Regions from separate parts of the Homo sapiens genome. Here regions 1 and 2 are each linked to region 3. Evidence: promoter capture Hi-C in 16 types of primary human blood cells and fetal thymus (Javierre and others, 2016). All regions are on one chromosome and are shown on one strand. Each heading gives the region's core, a stretch centred on a gene start or on the middle of the fragment in contact. The rest is flanking DNA. Distances are from core to core; before and after follow the strand shown. Region 1 overlaps LPIN2 (lipin 2). Region 2 holds the start of MYL12B (myosin light chain 12B). Region 3 holds the start of ANKRD12 (ankyrin repeat domain 12).

Region 1 (3,999 bases), core at 1,273-3,772, 6.2 Mb after region 3:
TCCCCGTCAGGGCTTGGCGTCGGGAGTCTGTGGCCCTGCTTTCAACTTACCCTAGACTGCGCTGTGTTGTATACTCTTCCTTTCTTCTGTCTAGCTAAGTTGTAACCTCCTTTCGTTCTTTGTAATCCCTTAGCATCTGGTGGGCACACTGTAAATGTTTTGTAAAATGTTGACTCAGTTAAGCACCTACACGATGTGGGCAAGCCCCTGGGGGACTGTCACCCCCTGCCCTCCCTGACCGGGGAGAAGCTTGCGGCAGCTGCTGCGTGGGTACCTTTGCGTTTCATCACTTACTTTTGGGGGGAAGTTTTTACCATCCAGAATCCCCCCCAGATTCATATTGGCCACCTCTAGGTTACTCTGGGATTCTTTGAGAAAACCATAGGGATTTAGTATAACCTGAGTTCAGCCCTCAGATTTTTTTTGCCCTCAGGGACACCACATGACCTTGAGACCCAATGATTTAAGCCATGGGTCAGAGGTAGTGGAGAAAGTTGGGACCCTGAGTATAGGTAGAACTGGGTTCTAGTGAATAGTAGACACCTCTTATCTCAATCTCAAATTTAAAATGAAATTAATAATGCCTGCTAGCATAACCCACATTCTCTTTTTGAAAATCAAATGAGGTATGTTTGAGGAAGTTCTTGAAAAATATTACATGCTAATCAAATGCAAACCGTAATCATGGGTGTCCTGAAGGAGTTTGGTCCAGGAGCACAGGGGCAAGCTGGAATGTTTACCTACATCCTAGGTAACAGTGTCCTGTTGTCTATTTCCTGAAGCATCTGGTGTCTCTCTTCCCTCCTAGCATACTCCTCATGTCCATGAGCAGAAAGTTAGCTGCAATGGCATGTTCTTTGGTAAAAGCTGTTTTAACCTCTGTCCGTAAGCCTCATGACATGTGGCGCTCCCAGGAGTCTGCTTTGTAACACTGGACCATGGTCCAGCGGGAGGGTTAATAGTAGTGGTGTGAGGAGACTTGGAGGGTAAGTATGGCTTCTTTGGATTCCCTGTAATCATTTCATCTTTAAGTAGTCAAGTCGCATTAAGTAAAAATGATACTCAGATTGCTGAAAGCAGCCCACTTGCAGTAAGAAATCTGGAGGCTTCATGAAGGCTTTTATCATGTTTACTTAGAGCATTTCTGTTACTTAGAGATGCAATTAAGGGCTTAGGTTCTAGGCTCATACTTGAGTTTGAATATTAACTCTGCCACTTAATAGTGTGCTGACCTTGGATATTTCTGAACCCGAGTTTCCACATATAAATGGGAATACCAAATCCATGGGTATCTGTGAAGACTACATGAGATAACATACAGGTTAACATAGCACTTGACACATGAGAGACGTGTAACAAGTTTAGTTGTGTGTTCGTTGGTAGTAGTACTAACAATACTAGTACCGATTAGATATTTGGAGATAAACTTAAGAAACAGATTTTGAAACACTTAAAATAGTGGTTTAGAATGTATCCATTTTGAGGCCAGTCGTGGTGGCTCACACTTGTAATCTCAACATTTCGGGAAGCCAAGGCAGGTGGATTGCTTGAGCCCAGGAGTTCAAGACCAACCTGGGCAACATGGCAAAACCCCGTCTCTACAAAAAAATACAAGAATTAGCTGGGCATGGTAGCACATTCCTGTAGTCCCAGCTTCTCCGGAGGCCAAGGTGGGAGCATCGCTTGAGCCCAGGAGGCTGAGGTTACAGTGAGCAGAGATCGCACCATTGCAGTCCAGCCTGGGCAACACAGTGAAACCCTGTCTCAAAATGAAAATAAAAGTAAATAGAATGTGTCCATTTTGTGCTGATAATTTATGAATTTTTTTTATTGTTTTTAAACTACCTTTTATCTCTGATTACTCTTTTCCTTAACAAAAGTTATTTTTGATTGAACACATCAAATAATTGAAATAATTTTAAGCAGTTTTTGTAGGAGGGGGATTGGTATTTGAACCTATTTACTGATGCTTTTTTTTTTTTTTTTTTGAGATTGGGAGTCTCACTCTGTCACCCAGGCTGGAGTGCAGTGGCACGATCTCAGCTCACTGCAACCTCTGCCTCCCGGGTTCAAGCGATTCTCCTGCCTCAGCCTCCCGAGTAGCTGGGGCTACAGGCATGTGTCACGATACAGGCCAATTTTTTTGTATTTTTAGTAGAGATGGGGTTTCACCATATTGGCCAGGCTGGTCTTGAACTCCTGACCTCAAGTGATCTACCTGCCTCGGCCTCCCAAAGTGCTGGGATTACAGGCGTGAGCCACCGCGCCTGGCCCATTTTATTTATAAATCCATACTCCATATAGTGATTATTCATTTTAGTTTCTTTGATGCTCAGCAAAAGATGCTAAGCTGATCTTCAAACTTTTGGTGAATAACGAAATCTTGAAAGCTACCATTCATTCCAGTGTGTGTCCTTTTATACCTTAAAATATTTGATAAGAAAAATATGATAGTGGGCACTGTCAAATTTTATGCATGAAGGACTAATTTGGCGTATTGAATTTTATATGCGAAGGGCCATTTGGTCTCTAATAAGTATTGTAGTTGCTTATTTTCTACTGCTTTTTTTTTTCTTCACTTTTTTATTTGAGTAATCAATAAGTACTTCTTTTCCTTCGGAGCTCCCAATACTTAATCTAGCCCATGGGAAGGTACCTAGGCCTAAACAGCACACTGTATATTACATACACTGTGTAGCAGTCAGGCCACATCTGAGCCATTGTGTCTAGCTGTCTTTAAATATCGTTTTTAAAGATGGACATAAATAATTGTCATAAGAGTCAGAGTAGACCCAATCAGTTCACATATTTTAAGGAACAAGAATGCTTAGCCTAGAATAGAAGAGACTCTGATAAATTCTTTGGTGTGTTGTGGTTTCATTTGGAAGAGCGTGGTAATATTCAGTGTGATTTCTAGTGGACATAATAGTTCTCTGACATTTTTATGGACTTCTTGGTAAAGTAGTGAGTCTCTGTCAACTGTAACGATCCCAAAACTGAAATGCAGCATAGCATGCGATGTTTAAGAAGAGACTTGTCTTAGTCAGCTTGGGGTACTGCAGCAGAATACCATAGATGGTATTTGGCTTAAACAACAGACATTTATTTCTTACCATTCTCACAGATCAAAGTGCCAGCCGATTGGGCTCTCTTCCTGGTTTGCAGACTTCTTGCTGTATTCTCACGAGGAAAGGAAAGAGAGCGTGGTCTGGGTCTCTTTCTCCTCTTAGAAGGACACTAATCCATCACATGGAGGCTCCACCCATGTGACCTCATCTAAACCTAATTACTTCCCAAAGGCCCTGTCTCCAAATACCATCACATTGGGCGTCAGGGCTTCAATATATGAATTTGGTGGTGGTGGGGGACAGAGGGAGGTCATAGATATTACTTAACTTTTCTAACCCTCATTTCTTTTTTTTTTTTTTTTTTTTTTTGAGACGGAGTCTTGCTCTGTCACCCAGGCTTGAGTGCAGTGGTGTGATCTCGGCTCACTGCACCCTCCGCTTCCCAGGTTCAAGTGATTCTCCTGCCTCAGCCTCCCAAGTAGCTGGGACTACAGGCGCACGCCATCACGCCCGGCTAATTTTTTGTATTTTTAGTAAAGACGGGCCTTCACCGTGTTGGCCAGGCTGGTCTTGAACTCCTGACTTCAAGTGATCTGCTTGCCTCAGCCTCTCAGAGTGCTGGGATTACAGGCGTGAGCCACTACACCCAGCCTTAATTGTCTTTAAAAATAGAAATAATACCACCTCTAAAGTAGTTCTGAGATAATAATGTATAAGTTTAAGAATTTGGGATGTTACGAGCTTTCAAAAAAAGAGTTGTTTCCAGTGTGATTATTGTTAGAGTATTTCAGAGATGTGTTAGAAGCATTTTTGGTATTTGTTAAAAGAATGGGCTGGATGTATTCTTCTTGTTCCAAGAATCAGCAAGTGCACTTTAATATTTTTATTTATGCCCGTAAGCCTCAAGATAGGGATGCTGCTCTGTGACCAT
Region 2 (3,738 bases), core at 1,224-3,723, 5.9 Mb after region 3:
CGAGCAGCTGGGACTACAGGCATGAGTCACCATACACAGCTACTTTGCAAGGAGTGGGTGGCAGGGTAGAGACAGGGTCTCGCTATGTTGCCCAGGTTGGTCTTGAACCCCTGGCTTCAAATGATCCCCCCACATTGGCTTCTCAAAGCATTAGGATTACAGGTATGAGCCACCATGCCTGGCCATATTCATTCTTTTTATTGCCTTTTGCCTTTCCACCTTGGACTGCAGAACTTAGCAGTGTGCCTTGCACATGGCAGGTGCTCAAATAATCCTAGTTAAGCAAATACATATATATATGTATAAATATATGTATAGTATACACAGTTGTATATAGTGTATATACATATATAGTTCTTTCCTGTCACAAACAGAATTACACATATATGTTCATTACAAGGTAGGTCCCGGATCTGAATTCCAACATGAGGCTTTTCTCTACGGTCTACCTATGGTTCCAGTCTCTTCCCCAAGAGATCCCTAAGGAAACTTAGTAGCTACCCACTGCTCCATACCTGGAAGAAGCAGTAGCAACCAGGGACAACTGGGTGCTAAAGATGTGCCAGGCACTGATTTAAGCATTTTGTATGTGTTAACACATTTAATCCTCACGACAACTCATCATATAGGTATTGTTATCATCCTCTTCTCTCAGATACGAAAATCAGGGTAAAGAGAATAAACAACTTGCCACACAGCTAGAAAATGGCAGAGCTCAGTCAGGATCTGTACTCAGGAAATCTAGCTCCAGAGCTTGAACCACTAGCCAGTAACATCCTGCATACAGGCAGCTGAAATTCTCTACCATGAAAATGTGGATACCTGGGCATAACAAGCAATGACACCCCAAAGCTAATGTGTAGAATGAGGAAGGAAGATCACAAAGATGCTGGCAAAAAGGGTATGATAAACTCATCCCCAGATATACCTGGAGCCTTTGAATCTTGGGAGAAAGGGAAAACTAGCCCCATGTCGGGGCTCTAAATCCTGTTCTTTCCTAACCCTAGCAACTCTTGTCTGGACATCTGTCCTTCAGAAATTGCAGTTCATCTTGTTCAAGCTTAGTTTCATCAAAGCATAAACGAACATCGAGTCAGCCATCATAAAAGCTGTTTCACTCAAAAGAGCCTAAAGCACTCAAAAGTGCTCTTAGTTATAAAGTCCAGGAGGGTCCACCACCTTCGACAAATTACCTCACCTCTCTGGGTTTCACTTTCCTCAGTTATAAAACGCAAAGCCTTCACAAGGTAATCTATCAGGTCCTACTGAATTCTAAATGCTTTGATTCTTCTCTTACCAAAAGACCATTCCAAATCTACCTTAAACTAAAGCGGCCAAACGAATCCTCTAAACATCCCTTTCTTATTACTCCGTTAGTGAAGACTCCAAAATTACTCTCTATGGCTTCTTAGATAATCTTTTCTTTCTCCTAAGTTTTCAAGACATCCATAAGAAGGTCCTACTTACCTATCTACCCTTATTTCCGACTATTAGTCATTACAGTTCTGTTCCATACCCGCCGGTGTCCCCACGGCCTGCTTTTCACAGGACACAATTCCCAGCTTTTGAGTTTTGCTCGTTACCACCTCCCACACATCTAGCCGGAAACGCTAAGTTCTCCCTCTTAAGGTTGAATCCAAGGCCTTCAGTGAGGTCACGACTCTTTTCCAAGTAACCTTTCCCTATTTCTGTTAATGGTCCTTTCTTCAATCAACACGAATAAACTAAACCTTTACAAGATGCAAGACACACTGAGCGAATTACAACTCTATGTAAATCATCACATTTGAGCCCGTATCAACCACACACTCGGTTACCGGCATGCTAATGGCTTCCTTGGAGGCTTCACCTTAGGCAAGACCGTGCAACAGGAGGCTCCTCCACCCTCCAAAGCATCTAGGATAGTGTTGGGCACAGGGCAGGTGCTCCACACGAACACGCCCGGGTCGGCCCCAATCCACCGCCAGGACCCGCCGCGGCGCCGGGAGGGCAGGCGTTGGCCGCCGGGCAGCCGGGCCGTCCAAGGCCCAGGTGTCTGAGGTCACCCAGGTGGCGCAGGGCCGGCCCACGCACGGCCGGGACCCGGCCACTTCTCCAGCAGGGCGTCTCCCCATACCGGCTCCATCGCCTGCAGCCTCCCGGCCCCTGGACGTCCGGGCCAGGGCCTCGCCACCAACCCTCCTCCCGCCGCCAACCCTCCTCCCTCCACCTCCGGCCCCGCGCCCCCTTCTCAGCCAGTCTGACAGGTCCTGCCGCCGCCTGGCCGCCCTGGGGCGGGGTCCGGCCGCAGGCGCGCGACGGGAGGGGGCGCGGGGGTACGGAGACGGCGGCCCGAGGGGTCTCGCGAGCAGAGTCGAGCGCGACTCACCCGACGCCAAACACCAGAACCGGGGCCGCCCTGCGCGAGACCACAAACGACAGCGAAGAGCGTTAGGCTGTGGCCGGACAGTGGCGGCGCCGACACTTCCTGCCTGAAGGGGCGGAGCGGAAGGCGCACCGGAAGGCGCACCGGAAGGCGCACCGGAAGGCGCGGCGGGACCAAGTGGAACGGGGGTGCGCTGAGTGTTCGCGCCCGGGCCGGCGGGGTCTGCGTGTCCGCCGAGCGGCGGGGCTGCTGAGGCCGGACGCACACGGCCGGGGTCTTAATTGCCCCTCCGGCCTGCTCCGATCCGCTGCGATATCGCGGCCTGCGCTGCGGCGGTCGTCCGCAGCCCGGCCCTCGTCCCCCGCTCCTTTGGTAGCTCCGCCACCCTTCCGCATTCCTGGGCCCGCTGGGCGCGGCTGGGCAGGCCGCTGGAATTTGACCCGAGTGGGCCGCGATCGGCCGAGGATTTGGGGTCCCCTTTGACCCAGGCGGGGCGCGATCCGCCTAGGATTTGGGGTCCCCTGGCGCCGAACCCTGAGTTGCCAGATGTAGCAAGTAAAAGTACAGTTCTTCTAAATTTGAATTTCAGACAAGACAGGTTTTAGGGTTCGTCTCATGTAATGTTGAGAAGGTGAGGGCGGCGCCTGGGCGGATTCTTCTCCGTTCCAGAATCCCTTTCTCTTTTCAAACCGCATTACAGCCCGAGTTAAATTCTTTAACCTACTCCTCTCTGCTTACCCTCATAAGGTTTACGGCCGTATCAGGCTACGGCCGCAGCCTACGGCTGTTTGATTCCCCTTTTGGCCACAAGAAAGTTTTATTCGAACTACTTGCTTTCCTTTATCAAGAAAATGGCAACGCACACACATACATGCACACACAAATAAAAACACAAAGCTACGTTTTTCAGGTTTTGTTCTAGATCGTGTTTGTGGCTGTGTTCTTCAGGATATTTTCCCTCACCTTGAGGTAATCTAGCATTACTTCATCTAGCATTACTAAAATAGCATTACTTCAGGATGGTGGAGGATCGGCAATCTAATAGCAAATCTTTATTGAACTCTTCTTACTGCCTTAACATGTGCCGGATGCTGAGAGATGAATTCAAAGCCTCTTAGGGAGTTTATATTCTAGAAATCTTTGATCAGAAATTCCTAGAAGAGAGGGACCTTGTGTTCAGCACTCTGTAGCAGTTCTTAAACAGTAGCACGCATAATAACAGGGCTTTTAAAAACATTTTTGAGCCTCAAAACCGGGTATCAGGATTCAGTGAGTAAGGGGTGGAGGATAATTCGAATTTCTGGTAAGCACACATGATGCTGATGGGGTGGTCGCCATCCCAGCAGCACAGCTCTAAACGCGGTTCATAACTG
Region 3 (3,935 bases), core at 1,024-3,523:
CAACTACTATGAAAATTATGAGATTATGAAAACTATACAAGATTAAGAACATTAAAAGTATCCTACATAAGTACACTTAACACTCATTTTCCTTCCATTTTAACACCTCATCTGTCTCTAAAACACATAACGAGTTAAACTTGACCTTAGCCAAGATGCCTGTAGAGCTTCAGAAATTTATTCAGTGCCTGTATCAAATATAAAAGATCCTTAAGTAGTAAAACTTTTCTCCCCTTGTCTATAATCTCCAGGGGTAAACATTTCAAATTTTTAAAGGCTCCTGCTTTTAACCCAAATTAAAGATTTTTCTCAACAAGACTGTTAATATAACGACTTCATCTTACACGGTGGACACTATCCTCATTTTGCTTTTAAGCCACTTGGCACCAATAGAGCATATGTTCTGCCAGTTCTGAGCTAATCTCCAGGAAAGGCTTTGTATAACGATTAAAGAAACTCAGATCAGTGCCCAAGATTTTTAACGGCCTACTTGAGCATATGTTTTTTTGTTTGTTTGTTTGTTTGTTTTGGTATGTTTTTGCGACGGAGTTTCGCTCTTGTGGCCCAGGCTGGAGTGCAGTGGCACGATCTCGGCTCACTGCAACCTCTGCCGCCCGGGTTCAAGCGATTCCCCTGCCTCGGCTTCCCAAGTAGCTGGGATTACAGACATGCGCCACCACGCCTGGCTAATTTTGTATATTTAGTAGAGACGGGGGTTTCACTATATTGGTCAGGCTGGTCTCGAACTCCTGACCTCAGGTGATCTACCCACGTCGGCCTCCCAAAGTGCTGGGATTATAGGCATGAGCCACCGCGCCCGGCTGTGCATATGTTTTTAATACACAGTTAATTTACGATAAAATAGCTATTTCACTAGCCTTTCTTTATAATTTACATAAACCATTCTAAAATGAAAACGAAATACATGACTGCAGATGCAGGCTCATTTCAACTTTAGGATTAGAGGTAATTCCGAACCATTACATACACAGCACTGGATCTGCAACACACTTCACCTTAGTTCGCAGTTTAACCACGGGTGTCCAGTGGAAATTACAATCCCGGTGACTACACTGCTTTAAATGTTTCCTAAGGTTTCAACGAGTGCAACAGTAACTTCCTATCCCAGACAGCGTCTTACTGTTATTACTAAAACAGCTGTCAGCTAAGCTTCGCATACCTCTTTGTACAACCGTTTATTCAACGCTTTGGGATCTGTAAGGATGCGTCACTCCACATCACTCCTCAAAACGAGATCTAAGAACCTGACGTGCTCCAGGGGTCTTGAAGCATCACAAGTGGGTACTTGAAAAACGATGACGGGAACTGCCTGTCCAATGCGGCAAGGTTATTTTACACTGGCATTTAAGACAGAACTGTAGAGTGGCTGCTCTTTCCCCGGACACTACTAAAGCAGCAATTTCCCCTTCTTGATTTCATCCACCTCTCCCAGGACCCGGGTACCTCCGACGCTCCCGGCCCGAGCGGCCGCGGCAGACTCCCCGGCGTCGGCGCACGCTCGGCGGCTGGCGGCGGGAACGCGCGGCGGGCCGGGCGCGCCCCCGCCCCCGCGGGTCCGACCGCCGCACGCCAGCGGCGCCCTCTCGGCCGCGCACACTCACACTCGCACGCACACGCTCCTCCGGCCCCGCCATGTTCCGGGAGGCGGCGGCAGCCCAGCCCCGCCAGCCGCGGTGAGGGGCGCCCGCGACGAGGCCAGCTCGCGGCCCTCCGCCCGGCCCCCGCCCCGCCCCGCGCAGCGCCCCCGCCCAGTTGGCGGCTCCCACCTGCGCCGCGGCTCCTCGCGACGCCGGGAGGGGCGGCGGCGGGCGGGGCCCCGGCGGACCCGCGCCGGGGGGCACTAACGGCCTGTCACTGTCAGGCGAGCTACGGCTCGGGCCAGGCTGGGCGGGCGGCGCGTCGGGACCGGGGGGGGCGGGCAGGGCGCGTCCCCTACCTTGCTCTGGGGAGGGGGAACGGGAGCAGCGCAGAACTGAGGGGATCTCCTCCCTGGCGCCGGGGACAAGCTCGAAACCGCGCCCCTCCTTCCTCCTTTCCTGTCGCCACGCCCCCCTCACCCGTACGGACCCGAGGCAAGGCCGGCGCAGGAGGCTTCACCCCCGGAACGAGTGCTTCGGCGTAGCCGTCGCTGTCGTTGTCTTCGTCGCCGCTGCAGCCGCCTGTAAAGCCGCCGGAGCCGGGCTTGAAAACATCTCCGGTCTCGGTCCGTCTCTCACCACAGCCTCCTCGCTCCCAGGACAGCGTCGCCCCGCGATTGGCTGCGACGCGAGCACGTGACACCCGCGGACACGTGACTACCGCGGGCACGGGACGGGCGGCGTGACCGCCCCGCCCCCCGGCGCCCGCCCCTCCTGCTGCTCAGCCAGGCTCCGCGAGCCGCAGGGCGGGGAAGCGGGACGTACCAAGCGGCAGGCGGCGGAGGGGTGCGGGCCGGAACTCCGCCCTTCGTGCTGGTCGGTCTCCACGCCCCACTCGGACTAGTGTCACCGCCTCCCCGCCGCAGACACTATCCGACAAAGGAGGGGGAATCAAAGGCTGGGCGAAGAGGCAGGGCAGGCGCCGGTGACGCTGCTGGGCAAGCGGGCTCTGCAGTAGCATTTGTGGCGACCGTGGCAGTGGCTGTGACTGGAAGCTTCTGGAAATGGCGGCGATGAGGACCCCCACATAGGGTATTCACCTGTTATTTTTACACGGGGTGGGTGGACGAGCGTGATCCAACTCAGGCAAAATGACGCTGCGACCGCAGCCCGAGGACTAGGCGAAGTTCCCCCGCTAAGCCGGCGGCGGCCGTCTGGCCCCGCACCAGGCCGGAGAAGCTGCACCTACGCCCAGAGCCCGCGGCCCCCCGCCTCAGGTGGGGCCCTGGGCCCCGCCCCGAAAGCGCGGTAGCGTGCACCTGCCCTGGCACCAGGGGGTCTAGAGCGCGTCCCCTCCCAGCCACGCCTTCCAGTGGCCTTTTTAAAGAGGAATTCAGTGCACCCTCCCACACGTAGTGTTGGGGATTTGAGAGGGAGCTGCTCAGGTACTAGGAAGGGTGCCGGAGGAAAATTGACCGTCGCAGCGTGGCAGCAGCGTGTACTCACTCCCTTCTGGGCGCGTTATTTACGTAGAGGTTAATCTGCAACAACAGCGTCTGTTTATGACTTAGTGCATGCAGTTACAAGTTTATGTTACACTGTCCTTTAACGTCTTGATGAACTGAGGGTTCAGGTGTGATCACAGCAGATGAAGTGACATTCAGACCTGACAGGGACGGCGAGGTCCCATCAAATTACTATGTAAAGCATAAACCTGCATTAAAGATCAGGAGTTTTTCCTTTCCTGGGTTCCTGATTTCTCCCACCTACAAATCTTTAGGGTCAACAAGACTAGAAAAAGAGCACCTTATGGCTAGAGGTGGAATAGTGTTACATTTAACTTGGTTATTTATGATGTGAAATACAAAGAAAAAAACAGTCGCCTATGAGAAAGTCAGGAGAGCTCCAGGGTAGGACATTTTCATTGTTACTTTTTTGTGCCACTTGGAAAATTAACTGTTGTTTACCTTCTCTCAATTAAAAAAAAAATCTTAAAGACATACTTAAAAATAATCGTTATAGCCGAGCGCAGTGGCTCACGCCTGTAATCCCAGCAATTTGGGAGGCTCAGGCGGGCAGATGGCTTGAGCCCAGGAGTTTGAGACCAGCCAGGCAACATAGTAAGACCCTGTCTCTAAAAAAATATATGAAAATTAACCAGGCTGGTGGCGCCTGCCTGTGCTCCCAGCTGCTCAGGAGGCTGAGGCCAGGGTATTGCAGTGAACCAAGATCACACCACTGCACTCCAGCCTGGGGACACAGCCTGTCTCAAAAAAAAAAAGCATAATTACTAGTGAATAGTCTGTTTCAAGTACAGGTGACTTTGAGAAATCGAGG

What was found. The method cuts DNA at HindIII sites, captures the fragments that hold promoters and counts their contacts. A CHiCAGO score of 5 or more calls a contact.
Region 1: a contact is called between a fragment that was not itself captured here and the fragment with the promoter of ANKRD12 in region 3, in 1 of 17 cell types (total CD4 T cells). The highest score is 5.4, in total CD4 T cells.
Region 2: a contact is called between the fragment with the promoter of MYL12B here and the fragment with the promoter of ANKRD12 in region 3, in 2 of 17 cell types (total CD4 T cells and non-activated CD4 T cells). The highest score is 6.5, in total CD4 T cells.

What each region holds. Positions count from the first base shown.
Region 1 is chr18:2,963,721-2,967,719 of GRCh38, reverse strand. The region is part of intron 1 of LPIN2 (lipin 2); the gene reads left to right. LPIN2-AS2 (LPIN2 antisense RNA 2) reads right to left here and starts at 720. Exons shown (of 3, transcript XR_001753322.2): 1 at 678-720; 2 at 51-148. The HindIII fragment of the contact is 4,542 bases long and covers 252-3,999 here.
Region 2 is chr18:3,260,868-3,264,605 of GRCh38, reverse strand. It overlaps MYL12B (myosin light chain 12B), which reads right to left and starts at 2,473. Exons shown (of 4, transcript NM_033546.4): 1 at 2,369-2,473. MYL12-AS1 (MYL12A and MYL12B antisense RNA 1) reads left to right here and starts at 2,247. Exons shown (of 4, transcript NR_130145.1): 1 at 2,247-2,553; 2 at 3,276-3,334. RefSeq lists a silencer at 1,928-2,817 and an enhancer at 3,028-3,077. The HindIII fragment of the contact is 3,443 bases long and covers 1,063-3,738 here.
Region 3 is chr18:9,135,119-9,139,053 of GRCh38, reverse strand. It overlaps ANKRD12 (ankyrin repeat domain 12), which reads right to left and starts at 2,273. Exons shown (of 13, transcript NM_015208.5): 1 at 2,089-2,273. NDUFV2-AS1 (NDUFV2 antisense RNA 1) reads left to right here and starts at 2,334. Exons shown (of 3, transcript NR_110772.1): 1 at 2,334-2,690. RefSeq lists silencers at 1,506-1,555, 1,596-1,995, 2,206-2,555, 2,906-2,995, 2,998-3,171 and enhancers at 2,126-2,175, 2,666-2,715. The HindIII fragment of the contact is 1,483 bases long and covers 1,173-2,655 here.